Regions from separate parts of the Homo sapiens genome. Here regions 2 and 3 are each linked to region 1. Evidence: promoter capture Hi-C in 16 types of primary human blood cells and fetal thymus (Javierre and others, 2016). All regions are on one chromosome and are shown on one strand. The core of a region is centred on a gene start or on the middle of the fragment in contact, and the rest is flanking DNA. Distances in the headings are between cores, read along the strand shown. Region 1 holds the start of PLA2G1B (phospholipase A2 group IB). Region 2 overlaps RNF10 (ring finger protein 10). Region 3 overlaps RNF10 (ring finger protein 10).

Evidence for each region. Contacts are between HindIII fragments. The CHiCAGO score rates a contact against its expected background, and 5 or more counts as called.
Region 2: a fragment that was not itself captured here is called in contact with the fragment with the promoter of PLA2G1B in region 1 in 2 of 17 cell types (M2 macrophages and endothelial precursors); the score reaches 5.6 in M2 macrophages.
Region 3: a contact is called between a fragment that was not itself captured here and the fragment with the promoter of PLA2G1B in region 1, in 1 of 17 cell types (naive B cells). The highest score is 5.0, in naive B cells.

Annotation. Positions count from the first base shown.
Region 1 is chr12:120,325,118-120,330,124 of GRCh38, forward strand. PLA2G1B (phospholipase A2 group IB) reads right to left here and starts at 2,662. Exons shown (of 4, transcript NM_000928.3): 1 at 2,603-2,662; 2 at 744-903. The coding sequence starts at 2,636. RefSeq lists an enhancer at 559-618. The HindIII fragment of the contact is 6,320 bases long and covers 2,378-5,007 here.
Region 2 is chr12:120,559,704-120,564,710 of GRCh38, forward strand. RNF10 (ring finger protein 10) reads left to right here. Exons shown (of 17, transcript NM_014868.5): 7 at 1,023-1,183; 8 at 3,242-3,367; 9 at 3,644-3,920; 10 at 4,107-4,240. Among named protein-coding and RNA genes, the nearest start is that of POP5, 19 kb to the right of the region's middle. The HindIII fragment of the contact is 487 bases long and covers 1,913-2,399 here.
Region 3 is chr12:120,541,557-120,546,563 of GRCh38, forward strand. RNF10 (ring finger protein 10) reads left to right here. Exons shown (of 17, transcript NM_014868.5): 2 at 4,849-5,007. Among named protein-coding and RNA genes, the nearest start is that of RNF10, 9.7 kb to the left of the region's middle. The HindIII fragment of the contact is 8,638 bases long and covers 1-5,007 here.

The DNA of each region.
Region 1 (5,007 bases), core at 1,412-3,911:
CTCACCTGCCCACTCTCAGGAACAGGTGGGGATGACTTCGCCAAGATGCTTCAGGAGAAATGATCCTATGGCTTGAAAAAATATAAGTCCTTTTATCATATATTTATTGAAAGCATTTTTTTTTTTTGAGACAGAGTTGCTCTGTTACCCAGGCTGGACAGCAGTGACACGACCTTGGCTCACTGAAACCTCCAACTCAGTCTCCCAAGTAGCTGGGGTTACAGGCGCTCGCCACCATGTCCGGCTAATTTTTGTATTTTTTAGTAGAGACAGGGTTTCACCATGTTGGCCAGGCTGGTCTCGAACTCCTGACCTCAAGTGATCCGCCCGCCTCGGCCTCCCAAAGTGCTGGGATTACAGGCATGAGCCACCGCGCCTGGCCTGAAAGCGATTTTTAACATGGTTGCAAGAATACAGTAAAATCCTGTATTCAGAAGGTGCAGTGACAACCACTGCTAGAAAATGACACGTGGATAGTTGCTGTGATGTTTACTGTTGCTACATTCTGCCACTGGAGGGCAGCATCGCCCACTGTTTTGCACGTCGGTCATTGTTTCCATCTCTAACGGGGTGCGTTCGCTACAGGGTCCTCTTGGAACATATTTGTTTATTTGACAAGAGGTGAAAATATGTTATCCTTAGCAGATATGCAAGTCCCCTTTGTATGCCTCGTGAGATCCTTGGCGTGTGCCCCACCCCGCCCCCGGCAGGCACTCCAATTTTCCTGCAGGCGGATCACTTACTTGTCCAGTTCATCCACGGGGGTGCCTGAGCCCCCCAAGCCACAGTAGCAGCCGTAGTTGTTGTATTCCAAGAAGGGGTCACTCCCCGGGATCACGCACTTGATCATTTTGCGGAACTGCCACACGGCCCGAGGGCTGATGCCGCTGTCGGCGGCGGCCACTGCAAGAAGACATAGCCAGAGTTCAAATCGGTCTGCCAGCACCCCGGGGACACACTGCCTTCCTGCTCCCTCGGGTCCCACGCTGCCTCCCTGACCCCTGCCAGCTGCCTCCTCTGAAGACCGTTGGACCCAGGAACCTGGTAAAGTGAAAGTGGGTAGAGGTTTTTTTTTTTTTTTAATGAAAACTTTATATATATAAAGTTTATATCTTTGTGTGTGTGTATATATATATATATCTTCTTCTTTTTCTTCTTCTTCTTCTTCTGGGACCCTACCGCCTCAGCTAGGATTACAGGCATGTGCCACCCAGCTAGGCCTGATAGTTTTTTTTTTTTTTTTGAGATGGAGTCTTGCTCTGTTGCCCAGGTTGGAGTGCAGTGACACGATTTCAGCTCACTGCAAACTCTGCTTCCCGGGTTCACGCCATTCTCCTGCCTCAGCCTCCCTAGGTCAGATAGTTTTAAACTATCTGCACTGTTTATCCAGTGAATATTTATTGAGCACTTACTATGTGCCAGGCTCTGTCCTAGGAGCTAGAGATACAGCAGTGAACAGATATAATAATAATAATAATAATAATAATAATAATAATAATAATAATAATCTCTAACCTCATGGAGCTTACAACCTAGTGGGAGAGAAAAACAATAAATAATAAATGTGATAAGGCCGGGCACGGTGGCTCATGCCTGTAATCCCAGCACTTTGGGAGGCCGAGGCAGGCGGATCACAAGGTCATGAGATCGAGACCATCCTGGCTAACACGATGAAACCCCGTCTTTATTAAAAATACAAAAAAATTAGCGGGGCGTGGTGGCAGGCGCCTTTAGTCCCAGCTACTGGGGAGGCTGAGGCGGGAGAATGGCGTGAACCCAGCAGGTGGAGCTTGCAGTGAGCCGAGATCGCACCACTGTACTCCAGCCTTGGCGACAAAGCAAGACTCTGTCTCAATAATAATAAGAATAATAATAAATGTGATAAGTAAGGAAACTGGATACTGCATTAGAAAGGGGAAGAATAGAGCAGGATGAGGAGAATCTAAAAGGGAGGTCACCCAGCCTGGCCAACATGGTGAAAACCTGTCTCTACCAAAAAAAACACACAAAAAATTAGCTGGGCATGGTGGTGTGTGCCAGCTACTTGAGAGCTACAAGTCCCAGCTACTTGAGAGGCTGAGGCAAGAGAATTATTTGAACCCAGGAGATGGAGGTTGTAGTGATCTGAGATCACGCCACCGCACTCCAGCCTGGGCGACAGAGTGAGCCCCGTCTCAAAAATAAAATAAAGTAAAATAAAAATAAAAATTAAAATAAAATAAAATAAATGGGAGATTGGCCTAACTACTTAGTTGAGTAAGGTGGGAGGATCACTTGAGCCCACGAGTTGGAAGCTGTGGTGAGCTATGATCATGCCACTGAACTCCAGCCTGGGTGATAGAGCAAGACCCTGTCTGGAAAAAAGAAAATAAAGGCAAGCTTTCTTAGCTCAGGCAATCTGAGTTCAGACTTGCAGGTTGAAAAAGTGCCAGCCTTGAGGGAACCCCAATAGAGGAGCCCTTAAGCCCCACTGGGAACCTCGAATTGAGACTGCGGGGCTGGCCATCCCTGTTTGCTGTGGCCTGTGGCCCCCATTCCAGAGGAGTGAGATCTTAGCTCACTTGGGAGAGAAAGGCGGGTGGAGCCGGGGAGACTTGCCTACCTGTGAGCAGCACAGCTAGCACAAGGAGTTTCATCTTGCAGTCAAGGTGAGAAAAGAACTGAGATGACCAGTCTCAGGTATAGTCTTATAGTCAGTCTCCACACAACCCTGCCCAGATAAGGCTGGAGTGTTTGCTTTGCTCTTGGCTGAGTTTGGGGCTGGCCTTGAATCTGTCTGTTGCAGGAATGACCCTGACGATTTGCCAGCATGGGATCACTGGAAAATATGTTATGCATTTGTCCTTAGCAACTGTTAACCAAAGGGATGGTTTCTGGAGTTTTCAGATCTTACAATCTTGACCCTCATACCCACCACTTTGTACTCAGCCCAGCTTCACGGGCTGGTTGGGGAAAGCAAAGCCGTCAGTTCAGTCGGACGCTGGGATAAGGGAGACAAGAAGGAAGTGCAGCCTGGGCAACATAGAGAGACCTCATCTCTAAAAAAAAAAATGTTAACCAGGTGTGGTGGTGGATTGCACCTGTGATCCCAGCAACTCAGGAGGCTGAGATGGGAGGATCTCTTGAGCCAGGGAGGTCAAGGCTGCAATGAACAGTGATTGAGCCTCTGCAGCAGAGTGAGACCCTATTTCAAAAAAAAAAAAAAAAAAAGAAAGAAAGAAAAAAGATCGCTGCCTGCAGCCTCAATGTCTTATCAAGTGCCTGAATCTGTGCACTGGGTCTGGTTGAATAGTCCCATCAGTCGTGCACCTTGCAGATAAAGAGACAGGTTCAGAGAGTTGCGGTAACTTGCCCAAGGTCACACAGTTGGCAAATGACAAAATAGGGCTCCAGTTTAGATCTGTCTGATTCCAAGGCAGAGGTTTTATTTTTTTCCACCACTCCGCTCTGCAGTGTGGGTTTGTGAGAAAAACCTGGGCTTTGGATTCCAAAGGCCTGAGTCTGAATTATAGAATACTAAAGGGCATTAGAACTGTCATATCAGAGGCCAGGCACGGTGGCTCATGCCTGTAATCCCAGCACTTTGGGAGGCTGAGGCTGGCAGATCACCTGAGGTGGAGAGTTCGAGACCAGCCTGACCAACATGGAATAACCCTGTCTCTACTAAAAACACAAAATTAGCCAGGCATGGTGGCTTATGCCTGTAATCCCAGCTACTCCGGAGGCCGAGGCAGGAGAATGGCTTGAACCCTGGAGGCGGAGGTTGCGGTGAGCTGAGATCACGCCATTGCACTCCAGCCTAGGGAACAAGAGCAAAACTCCATCTCAAAAAAAAACCTGTCACATCACATATCTATTTATTTATATATATTTTTTGAGACGGAGTCTTGCTCTGTTGCCTAGGCTGGAGTGCAATGGCGCGATCTTGGCTCACTGCAAGCTCTGCCTCCCAGGTTCATGCCATTCTCCTGCCTCAGCCTCCCAAGTAGCTGGGACTACAGGCACCCACCACCACGCCCGGTTAATTTTTTTTTTTGTATTTTTAGTAGAGATGGGGTTTCACCGCATTAGCCAGGATGGTCTCGATCTCCTGACCTCGTGATCCACCTGCCTCGGCCTCCCAAAATGCTGGGATTACAGGCGTGAGCCACCGCGCCCGGCCAAATATCTACATAACATTGTTTAGCTGAAATTCACATAACATTAACCACGTTTAAGTAAACAATTCGGGGGCATTTAGTACCTTCACAGTGTTGTGCAACCATCACCTCTATGGGGTTCCAGAACATTTTTATCACTCCAGAAGGAAACCCTGTACCCATTAGCAGTCACACTCCCTCAGCCCCTGGTAACTGCTAATCTGCTTCTCTCTCTCTCTCTCTTTTTTTTTTGAGACAGAGTTTCGCTCTTGTCGCCCAGGCTGGAGTGCAATGGCACGATCTCGGCTTACTGCAACCTCCGCCTCCCAGGTTCAAGCGATTCTCCTGCCTCAGCCTCTCGTGTAGCTGGGAATTACAGGCGCCTGCCAGCATGCCTGGATAATTTTTGTATTTTTAGTAGAGACAAGGTTTCACCATGTTGGTCAGGCTGGTCTCAAACTCTTGACCTCAGGTGATCCACTCCTCAGCCTCCCAAAATGCTGGGATTATAGGCATGAGCCACTGTGCCTGGCCTCTGATCTGCTTCTCTCTATATAGATTTATAATTGGTTAACTTGGTGCTCTTCTGTTCCTATGTCACCTCTACAACAACCCTGTGGGATAAGGAGGGCCTGGTTATTTAATTTATTTATCTGTTTTTTTTTTTTGAGACAAAGTGTCGCTCTGTTTCCCAGACTGATGTGCAGTGACACGATCATAGTTCACTGCAGCCTCAACCTCCTGGGCTCAAGCAATCCTCCCACCTTAGCCTCCCGATTAGTGGGGACTACAGACATGTGTCACCACACCTGGCTAATTTAAAAAAATTTTTTGGGCCAGGCACGGTGGCTCATACCTGTAATCCCAG
Region 2 (5,007 bases), core at 906-3,405, 230 kb after region 1:
TTATTTTTTGAGGCAGAGTTTTGCACTTGTTGCCCAGGCTGGAGTGCAATGGTGCGATCTTGGCTCACTGAAACCTCTGCCTCCTGGGTTCAAGCGATTTTCTTACTCCAGCCTCCCTAGTAGCTGGGATTATAGGCGCCCGTCACCACGCCCAGCTAATTTTTTGTATTTTTAATAGAAACAGGGTATCTCTATGTTGGCCAGGCTGGTTTCGAACTCCTAACTTCAGGTGATCCACCTGCCTCAGCCTCCCAAAGTGCTGAACGTGAGCCACCACACCCAGCTGGCTTGGTCTTAAACTTCTAAACTCAAGCAATCTTCCTGTCTTGGCCTCTCAAAGTACTGGGATTATAGGTGTGAGCCACTGCGCTGGTCCACCATTTCTTTATTCTTTATTGTTGGTTTTACTGGTTGGTTTGAGCTTTTCTTTTTCTGTGTGTGGTTTTTTTTGTTTTTTTTTTTTTTGAGACAGAGTTTCGCTTTTGTTGCCCAAGCTGGAATGCAGTGGCATGATCTTGGCTCACTGCGACCTCTGCCTCCTGGGTTCAAGCGATTCTCCTGCCTCAGCCTCCCAAGTAGCTGGGATTACAGGCATGCCCTACCAGGCCCGACTAACTTTTTTGTATCTTTAGTAGAGACGGGGTTTCACCATGTTGGTCAGGCTGGTCTCGAACTCTTGATCTCAAGTGATCCACCCGCCTTGACCTCCCAAAGTGCTGGGATTACAGGTGTGAGCCATGGTGCCTGGCTGGTTTGAGCTTTTCTGATATTACATACAATGCTGTAACAATAAACGCGTGACTAAAGTTTTGACTACATCTCTGGGTTTCTTAGATTTCTTATATCAAGAGCAGAGCTACAGACCTTATTTTAAGACCATTGTTAAATTATTTTCTAGGAAATCATGCTAAATTACCCCATTTTCACCCCAGAGAAAAGGCTGTATTTGAAAATTCCTATTTAGCTACACCATCGTGAGCTTTGAATGTTGCATTTCTTTGATCTTGCTGGCATTCTTATAGATGAACAGCACAGCCAGTACTCCAAGTTGCTGCTGGCCTCTAAGGAGCAGGTGCTGCACCGGGTAGTTCTGGAGGAGAAAGTAGCACTAGAGCAGCAGCTGGCAGAGGAGAAGCACACTCCCGAGTCCTGCTTTATTGAGGCAGCTATCCAGGAGCTCAAGGTGAGAGGATGCATTGGAGATGCTAAACCTTTTCACTTTCTCGGCGTTCTGTGGTGAAAACCAGAAATGCTAAACCTTTTCACTCTGTCGGGGGTGAGATGATGGACGCTGGGGATTAAGTTAGTTCCATTCCACATTTAAGACAATAAGCAGAGAATGGCTAAAAAAGCCAATTTGTTTTGGGCTTTGTTTGATGACAGTAGAGAAGGTTTAACCTAGGGCTTTTAAAGCTCTTTCTAGAGCTGAAAGGAGCAAGTCAAAATGATTTTATAACTAATTGTGACAGTGGAGTTTTTTAGATTAGCTATGTTCTTAAAGCAAGTTAGAGTTCTTTGTTTTCTGGGAAAATACTTAAGATTCTATTCTAGAGGTGTTTTGAAAGACATTGTGGAGAAAGTATTATGGCCTGCCCAGTATGCCTTAGGAGTACCTGAAACGGCAAGAATTACACAAGAACAGAATTCCCTGGGTCTTTTATCTTCCACAACAGAGATTCTTGAAGCATCACAACCACTGGTTGTTAGGTCCCACTTTGAGATATTGATTGCATAGGTTAAGCTCAGTAGGCTCAGTAATTTGCATATAACAAGTTCTAGGGTGATTCTGATGGCTGCTCATCCCCAGACCACACTCCTGGAACCACTGATCTAGCTTAGAGCAATAGAAGCCCATATTTATTGAGTGATCAGCATTTGATAGGACTTGTGCTATACACATTTATCTCACTTAAGCTTCTAGTGTGGTAGATAGAACTATCCCCTTTCATGGATGAGGAAACTGAATCCTGGGTTGGGTAATTTGCTAGTAAGGGATGCAGCTGGTATTTGAATTCCCTTCTCCCTGACTCCCAAGGGCTCCTTGGGTAGAGTCCTGTGTATTTAACTTTTGCTTTCTTTCTATAATACGTTGCAGCCGTATTTGTTCAAATGCCATTACAGGCATAAGAAAGGCTACATAGAATTAGAGCTGTCCAGGCTGAGGTGGAGTTAGCTAAATCCTTCCTACTACTCTGGACCTCTGTCTGAGCATAGTTTGTAAAAACTAGGTTAGTTTCATGTTCTTAGATTTCTGTTCTGGAAGTTTTTTGTATAGTGTTGTTTGTGTCAGATTCTCTTTTATTTTTTTTAACTTTTAAGTTCAGGGGTACAAATGCAGGTTGTTACATGGTAAACCTGTGTCATGGGGGTTTGTTATACAGATTTTCACCCAGGTATTAAGCTTAGTACCCATTGGTTATTTTTCCTGATCCCCTCCCTCCTCCCACTCTCCACCCTCTGATAGGCCTCAGTGTGTGTTCCCCTCTATGTGTCCATGTTTCATCATTTAGCTCCCACTTAGAAGTGAGAACATGTGTGCGATATTTGGTTTTTCTTTTTCTTTCTTTCTTTTTTTTTTTTTTTTTTTTGAGACAGAGTTTTGCTCTCGTTGCCCAGGCTGGAGTGCAGTGGCGTGATCTCGGCTCATCACAACCTCTGCCTCCAAGGTTCAAGTGATTCTCCTGCCTCAGCCTCCTGAGTAGCAGGAATTACAGGCATGCCCCACCATGCCTGGGTTATTTTGTATTTTTAGTAGAGATGGGGTTTCTCCATGTTGGTCAGGGTGGTCTTGAACTTCCAACCTCAGGTGATCCGCCCACCTCAGTCTCCCAAAGTGCTGGGATTACAGGCATGAGCCACCACACCTGGCCGTATGTGTCTTTACAGTAGAATGATTTATATTCCTTTGGCTATATACCCAGTAATGGGATTGCTGGGTGAAATTTTATTTCTGTCTTTAGGTCTTTGAGGAATCACCACACTGTCTTCCACAATGATTGAACTAATTTACACTCCCCAGTGTCAGATTCTAAGCAGATTCCAATCCTTAGTGGGTATTGCATGCTTTTTGCTTCCTGTTTCCCTCAAAGTTGAGATATTTAAGCACCTAATTCCTTCCCATTGGGTCTCATTGCCTTTTAACTTTTGGTCCTGTTGAGAGGCCATTCTAAGCCCTTGCCCTTCAAGCTAAGTGTGTGTCTGGAAACTTAACCTTCTCTGGTGTTCTCTCTGGCCACGTTAGACTCGGGAAGAGGCTCTGTCGGGATTGGCCGGAAGCAGAAGGGAGGTCACTGGTGTTGTGGCTGCTCTGGAACAACTGGTGCTGATGGCTCCCTTGGCGAAGGAGTCTGTTTTTCAACCCAGGAAGGTTAGTGTGTTCCTGTTACTAAGTGGCTGCCGTTCCTCAAATGCTGTCATTGAGCTGGTAGGCATTACTGTGAGATCTAAACCTTCTCAAGAGAAGAGGGGACAATGAGTATTTTCTGTATGCTTGTTATTAGTTCTTTCCCCAGGGGTGTTAAATCAGTGAACACGACAGCTAAGATAAACATCTAGGGAGCTTGGCTCTTAGGTCTGCATTTGCCACATTGCTTTCGGAAAGCAGGAGATATCCTTTCTGTTGACTTAGAGTTTGCTGCAACAGGGTGTGCTGGAGTATCTGTCTGCCTTCGATGAAGAAACCACGGAAGTTTGTTCTCTGGACACTCCTTCTAGACCTCTTGCTCTCCCTCTGGTAGAAGAGGAGGAAGCAGTGTCTGAACCAGAGCCTGAGGGGTTGCCAGAGGCCTGTGATGACTTGGAGTTAGCAGATGACAATCTTAAAGAGGGGACCATTTGCACTGAGTCCAGCCAGCAGGAACCCATCACCAAGTCAGGCTTCACACGCCTCAGCAGCTCTCCTTGTTACTACTTTTACCAAGGTGAGGGTGCCGGAAGAGAGGGCTGGGTTGCCGCAGAGGTGTTTCAGAGGTGACCCGGTGCTCTAAGCAGAGGAGCGCCACTAGATCCTGTGGCTTGGGTGGCTTGAGCCCTTGGGCATGGGGAGGGGTGGGGAGCCTCCTGGGGACTGGCCAAGACTGGTGTGTGATAGAGCCCCTTGTCCTCAGCGGAAGATGGACAGCATATGTTCCTGCACCCTGTGAATGTGCGCTGCCTCGTGCGGGAGTACGGCAGCCTGGAGAGGAGCCCCGAGAAGATCTCAGCAACTGTGGTGGAGATTGCTGGCTACTCCATGTCTGAGGTGAGGCCTTCCTGTAGAAATGGAGGGTCAGGCAGCAGTATTAACCTAATCTCTTTGAGGTAGGCCTAGCCATCCTAAGTTCACAAACCTTCAAGGCCTTTAGTTTTTGTATTTTTAGTCTTTCTGTCAGTGATGGTGCTGTGAATTCTTTGTAAGTGAAGTGTCCCCTCAGCATGCCAGGGTTCTGTTAAATCAGTTAATGCTGTTCCCTGCTTCTCTGGTTCATTGATTGTAGTTTGGGGATATAGATATTTCTTTTATTTAAGATGGAGTTTATTTTTGTTTCTTATCCTCCTTATTGCTTGGGAGAAATGTCACAAATTTGTTGTAAGATTTAAAATTAGACTCTTTGAGTACTATAAATTTTTCATCAAACATATGCAGAAAAAGAATAGAAATGAAAATAAATGGGCTGGATGTGGTAGCTCACACCTGTAATCCCAGCACTTTTGGGAGGCCTACTCAGGCAGATTGCTTGAGGCTAGGAGTTTCAGACCAGCCAGGGCATTTCTACAAAAAATACAAAAAAAAATTAGCTGGGTATGATGATGTGCACCTGTTGTCCCAGCTCCTCAGGAGGCTGAGGCAGAAGGATCACCTGAGCTGGGGAGATCAAGTCTGCAGTGAGCTGGCCTGGGCGGCAGAGCAAGACCATGTCTCAGAAAAAAAAAATTGGGCTTCATTTTCTACTATTTCAGGCCAAGTGTCTTTCAATAGGGAGATCTGCTTTATCTTCCTTCCCAGTTATTTATTCTGTCAGTGGTTCC
Region 3 (5,007 bases), core at 795-3,294, 220 kb after region 1:
CCCGAGCAGCTGGGACTACAGGCGCCCGCCACCAAGCCTGGCTAATTTTTTGTATTTTTAGTAGAGATGGGGTTTCACCATGTTAGCCAGGATGGTCTCTATCTCCTGACTTCGTGATCCACCTGCCTTGGCCTCCCAAAGTGCTGGGATTACAAGCATGAGCCATCGTGCCTGGCTTTTTTTTTTTTAGAGACAAGCTCTCGCTCTGTCACTTAGGCTGGCATGCAGTGGTGCAAACATAACTGACTGAAACCTTGAACTCCTTGGCTTAAGAGATCCTTGAACTCTTGAACCACTGTGCCTGGTTTATCTTTTTCTTTTTTTTTTTGAGATGGAGTCTCACTGTGTCTCCCAGGCTGGAGTGCAGTGGTGCAATCTTGGCTCACTGCAAGCCCCGCCTCCCAGGTTCACACCGTTCTCCTGCCTCAGCCTCCTGAGTAGCTGGGACTACAGGCTCCCGCCACCACGCCTGGTTAATTTTTTGTATTTTTAGTAGAGACAGGGTTTCACCATGTTAGCCAGGATGGTCTTGATCTCCTGACCTCGTGATCCACCCGCCTCAGCATCCCAAAGTGCTGGGATTACAGGCGTGAGCCACCGTGCCTGGCCTTTTTCTTTTTTTGAGACAGAGGCTCACTCTGTAGCCCAGGGTGGAGAGCAGTGGTGCCATCATAGCACACCGCAGCCTCAACCTTGGCTTAAGCAATCCTTCCAACTCAGCCTCTCAGCTAGGACTGCAGGTGTGTGCCACCACATTGGGCTAATTTTTAAATTTTTTGTAGAGATGGGGTCTTGCTATGTTGCCCAGGCTGGTCGCAAACTCGTGGACTCAAGTGATCCTCTTGCTTTGGCTTCCCAAAGTGTTGAGACAACCGGCATGAGCCACCAAGTCCAGCGCTGAAACTTTGCTTTCTAATTGTTACTACTAGTGCCATGTTTGACACTAACTGTTGCTAACTGAAGTAATAGGTAAAAGTTTAGTTTTTAAGTTCTAACTTTATTTATTTGTTTTTTGAGACAGAGTCTCACTCTGCTGCCCAGGCTGGAGTGCAGTGGCGTGATTTCAGCTCACTGCAACCTCTGCCTCCCGGGTTCAAATGATTCTCATGCCTTAGCCTCCCAAGTAGCTGGGATTACAGGCGTGTGGCACCACACCTGGCTAATGTTTGTATTTCTAGTAAAGATGGGGCTTCACCATGTTGGCCAGGCTGGTCTCGAACTTCTGGCCTCATGTGATCTGCCTGCCTTGGCCTCCCAAAGTGCTGGGATTACAGGGAGCCACCATGCCTGGCCTTAAATTGTAACTAAGGTAAGGGTCACTGTCCGTAAGCAGGATTTAAGGGTAACTGGTAGGAGTGAACCTAGCCTGTTTCTGTGACTGTTCTGTTTACATTGCTGCCATTTCACATGGTTTAGATTGACTCCCAGGTTTTAGGTGGTCAGGTTTGGAGAGAATGACATCTCATTTATACAGTGAGGTTGACAGACTATGGGCGTGAAGTGGTTGCTTTCAAAATTTGGTCTCTGATTTATTAACTTACATTTTCTTCTTTCTGAGGCATTGTTTAACCTTGAATTTATTTAGCCTGCTATAAAAAGCTGGTGATTGTACTTACCAAGAAATAATTTTTTCTAAGTTTAAAAAAAATTACTCAGATAATATTACAGGTCTGCAGACAGGTACTTTAGTATAGTTATATCAGAATCTTAGAGGGTGAGGCCTGAGCATAGGAATTCCGTAAAAGCTCATCTGTGTGATTCCTATGAACTGGCAAGATTGAGAATCATTGTAATAAGATAAAAGTGGGGCCAGACCCCATGGCTCATGCTTATAATCCCAGCACTTTGGGAGGCTGAGGTGGGAAGATCACCTGAGCCTGGAGGATCGCCTGAGCCCAGGAGTTTGAGACCAGCCTGGGCAACATAGTGAGACCCCCGTCTGCACAAAAAAATTTAAAAATTAGGTCGGGCCTGATGGCTCACGCCTGTAATCCCAGCACTTTGGGAGGCTGAGGCTGGTGGATCGCTTGAGCTCAGGAGTTTGAGACCCATCTGGGCAACATGGCAAAACCCCGTCTATATCAAAAATATAAATTAAGCCAAGAATGGTGTATATGCCTGGAGTCCCAGCTACTTGGGGGGCTGAGGCAGGAGGATTGCTTGAACCCAGGAGTTGGAGGCTGCAGTAAGCCGAGATCATGCCACTGCACTCCAGCCTGGGTGACAAAAGTAAGATCCTGTCTCAAAATAAATTTAAAAATTAGCTGGGTGTGGTGGTGCACACCTGCAGTCCTAGCTGGGAGGCTGAGTTGGAAAGATGCTAAGCTGAGGTTGAGGCTGCAGTGTGCTATGATGGCACCACTGCTTTCCACCCTGGGGGAATAAAACATGCTGGGCATGGTGGCTCATGCCTGTAATCCCAGTACTTTGGGAGGCCGAGGTGAGTGGATCACTTGAGGTCAGGAGGTCGAGACCAGCCTGGCCAATGTGGCGAAACTCCATCTCTACTAAAAATACAGAATTAGCCAGGCGTGGTGGCTCATGCCTGTAATCCTAGCTACTTGGGAGGCCAAGGCAGGAGAATTGCTGGAACCCGGGAGGTAGAGGTTGCAGTGAGCCGAGATTGCGCCACTGCACTCCAGCCTGGGCAATAGAGTGAGACTGTTAAAAACAAAAAAAAGATAAACCAGGCATGGTGGTTCATGCCTTTAATCCTAACAGTTTGGAAGGCCGAGGCAGGATTGCTTGAGTCCAGGAGTTGGAAACCAATCAGGGTAACAAAGTGAGACCCCAACTCTACAAAAAAAAAAAAAAAAATTGGCTGGGAGTGTTGGCTCATGCCTATAATACCAGCACTTTGGGAGGCCGAGCAGATGGATCACTTGAGCTCTGGAGTTTAAGACCAGCCTGGGCAACAAAGGCAAACCTCGTCTCTACAAAAAACACAAAAATCAGCTGGACATGGTGGTGAGTGCCTGTAGTCTCAGCTGCTCAGGAGGCTGAAGTGGGAGGGTGGCTTGAGCCTGAGAGGTGGAGGTTGTAGTGAACGAGATTGTGCCACTGCACTCTAGCCTGGGTGACAGAGCAAAACCTTGTCTCTAAATAAATAAAGTGCATAAGTAATTATTATGTTGTTAGAGTATAAATAAATCGGTGTAACGGTTCTAGAAAGCAACCTAGGGATGTGTAAATGGCTTTAATGACCATATTTTATCTGTCAGTTCCACTTTTTGAGAATTTGACATAATCACCTAAGCCTCTGTGTAAAGAGACTCCCAATGGTATTATATTAAACTAACAAAAAATTAGAAGCCACCTAAATATACAACAATGGGGGATTGGTTACATTATTCTGTAAGTATGTGGCCAAGAAGGGTACAGCAATTAATCATGCTTCTGAAGACTAGGGATGCATAAAAATGCTCACAGAGTAGTAAGCAGAAAACAATATATCTTCTATGCTTGTCATTTTATATAAGATTTGTGACACGTATGTAAAATGGAGATTAAAAGGAAAACACTGTTAATGAGTTAGTGCTCTGTGGGTACTGGCAACTTTAAATTATTCTACACTATTTTCAGAATTGAACACATATTATAATTGAAGAGAAAAACAAGAAACATTTTTATTTTTTATTTTTTGAGACGGAGTCTCGCCCTGTCACCCAGGCTGGAGTGCAGTGGCACGATCTCAGCTCACTGCAAGCTCTGCCTCCTGGGGTTCACGCCGTTCTCCTGCCTCAGCCTCCCGAGTAGCTGGGACTACAGGTGCCCGCCACCATGCCCGGCTAATTTTTTTTTTTTTTTTTGGATTTTTAGTAGAGACAGGATTTCACTGTGTTAGCCAGGATGGTCTCAATCTCCTGACCTCGTGATCCGCCCACCTCGGCCTCCCAAAGTGCTAGGATTACAGGCATGAGCCACCGCGCCTGGCCATTTTTAAAAAGGATATGACTCAATCTGATCCAATATGCTTTTATTTATTTAATTAAATTTTTTTTTGAGATAATCTTGCTCTTTGCCCAGGCTAGAGTGCTGTGGCACGATCTCGGCTCACTGCAACCTCTGCCTCCCAGGTTCAAGCAGTTCTCCTGCCTCAGCCTCCCAAGTATCTGGGATTATAGGTGCCCGCCACCATGCGCGGCTAATTTTTTGTATTTTTAATAGACATGGGGTTTCACCATGTTGGCCAGGCTGGTCTCAAACTCCTGACCTCAGGTGATCCACCTGCCTCGGCCTTCCAAAGTGCTGGGATTACAGGCGTGAGCCATTGCGCCCAGCCCCCAGTATGCTTTTAGAGCTCAACTTCTTTTGTTCTGTCAATTTAACAGCTTCTGAATTTGACCTCTAGAGCTTCTGTAAACACAGTTTTGCTGTTAATGCCTTTTGAATATATTTGCTAAGGCCTAGGACAACCCCTTGTAGTATAGAATCTGGTTATGTTATAGTAATTTAAAAAGGAATCTCTTCTGTCCTGTTACCAGGTAAAATACTTTTCCTTAATACAGAATGCCTGTTTCATTTCCTGTAACTTTATCTGACTGAACTTTTACAAGGACAGTGGTTAAGCTGTGTAAAGTAAAGACATTATGGATTGAGAATCCATGTGGTTTGATCTACGCTGTGTTTGTTTTGAGGGAGGGGACCCGTTAGGCTTCATTATTGCAAGAAAAAAACACTCTACTATGTGTTGTCTTGCTCAAAGCACTCATGCTCTGGCCCAAACCCAGATTCCTGAAGGTGGTCAAAGGGCCTATTCACCCTTATTTTTTGCTGGGAGGTGGAGGGCAGTTGGCTAAGTGAATGTATCAGCTTCTTAAGACGTTCTTTTGTGTTTCTTGCTTTCAGATGGAAAGAACTCCAGTGGATCCAAGCGTTATAATCGCAAACGTGAACTTTCCTACCCCAAAAATGAAAGTTTTAACAACCAGTCCCGTCGCTCCAGTTCACAGAAAAGCAAGACTTTTAACAAGATGCCTCCTCAAAGGGGCGGCGGCAGCAGCAAAC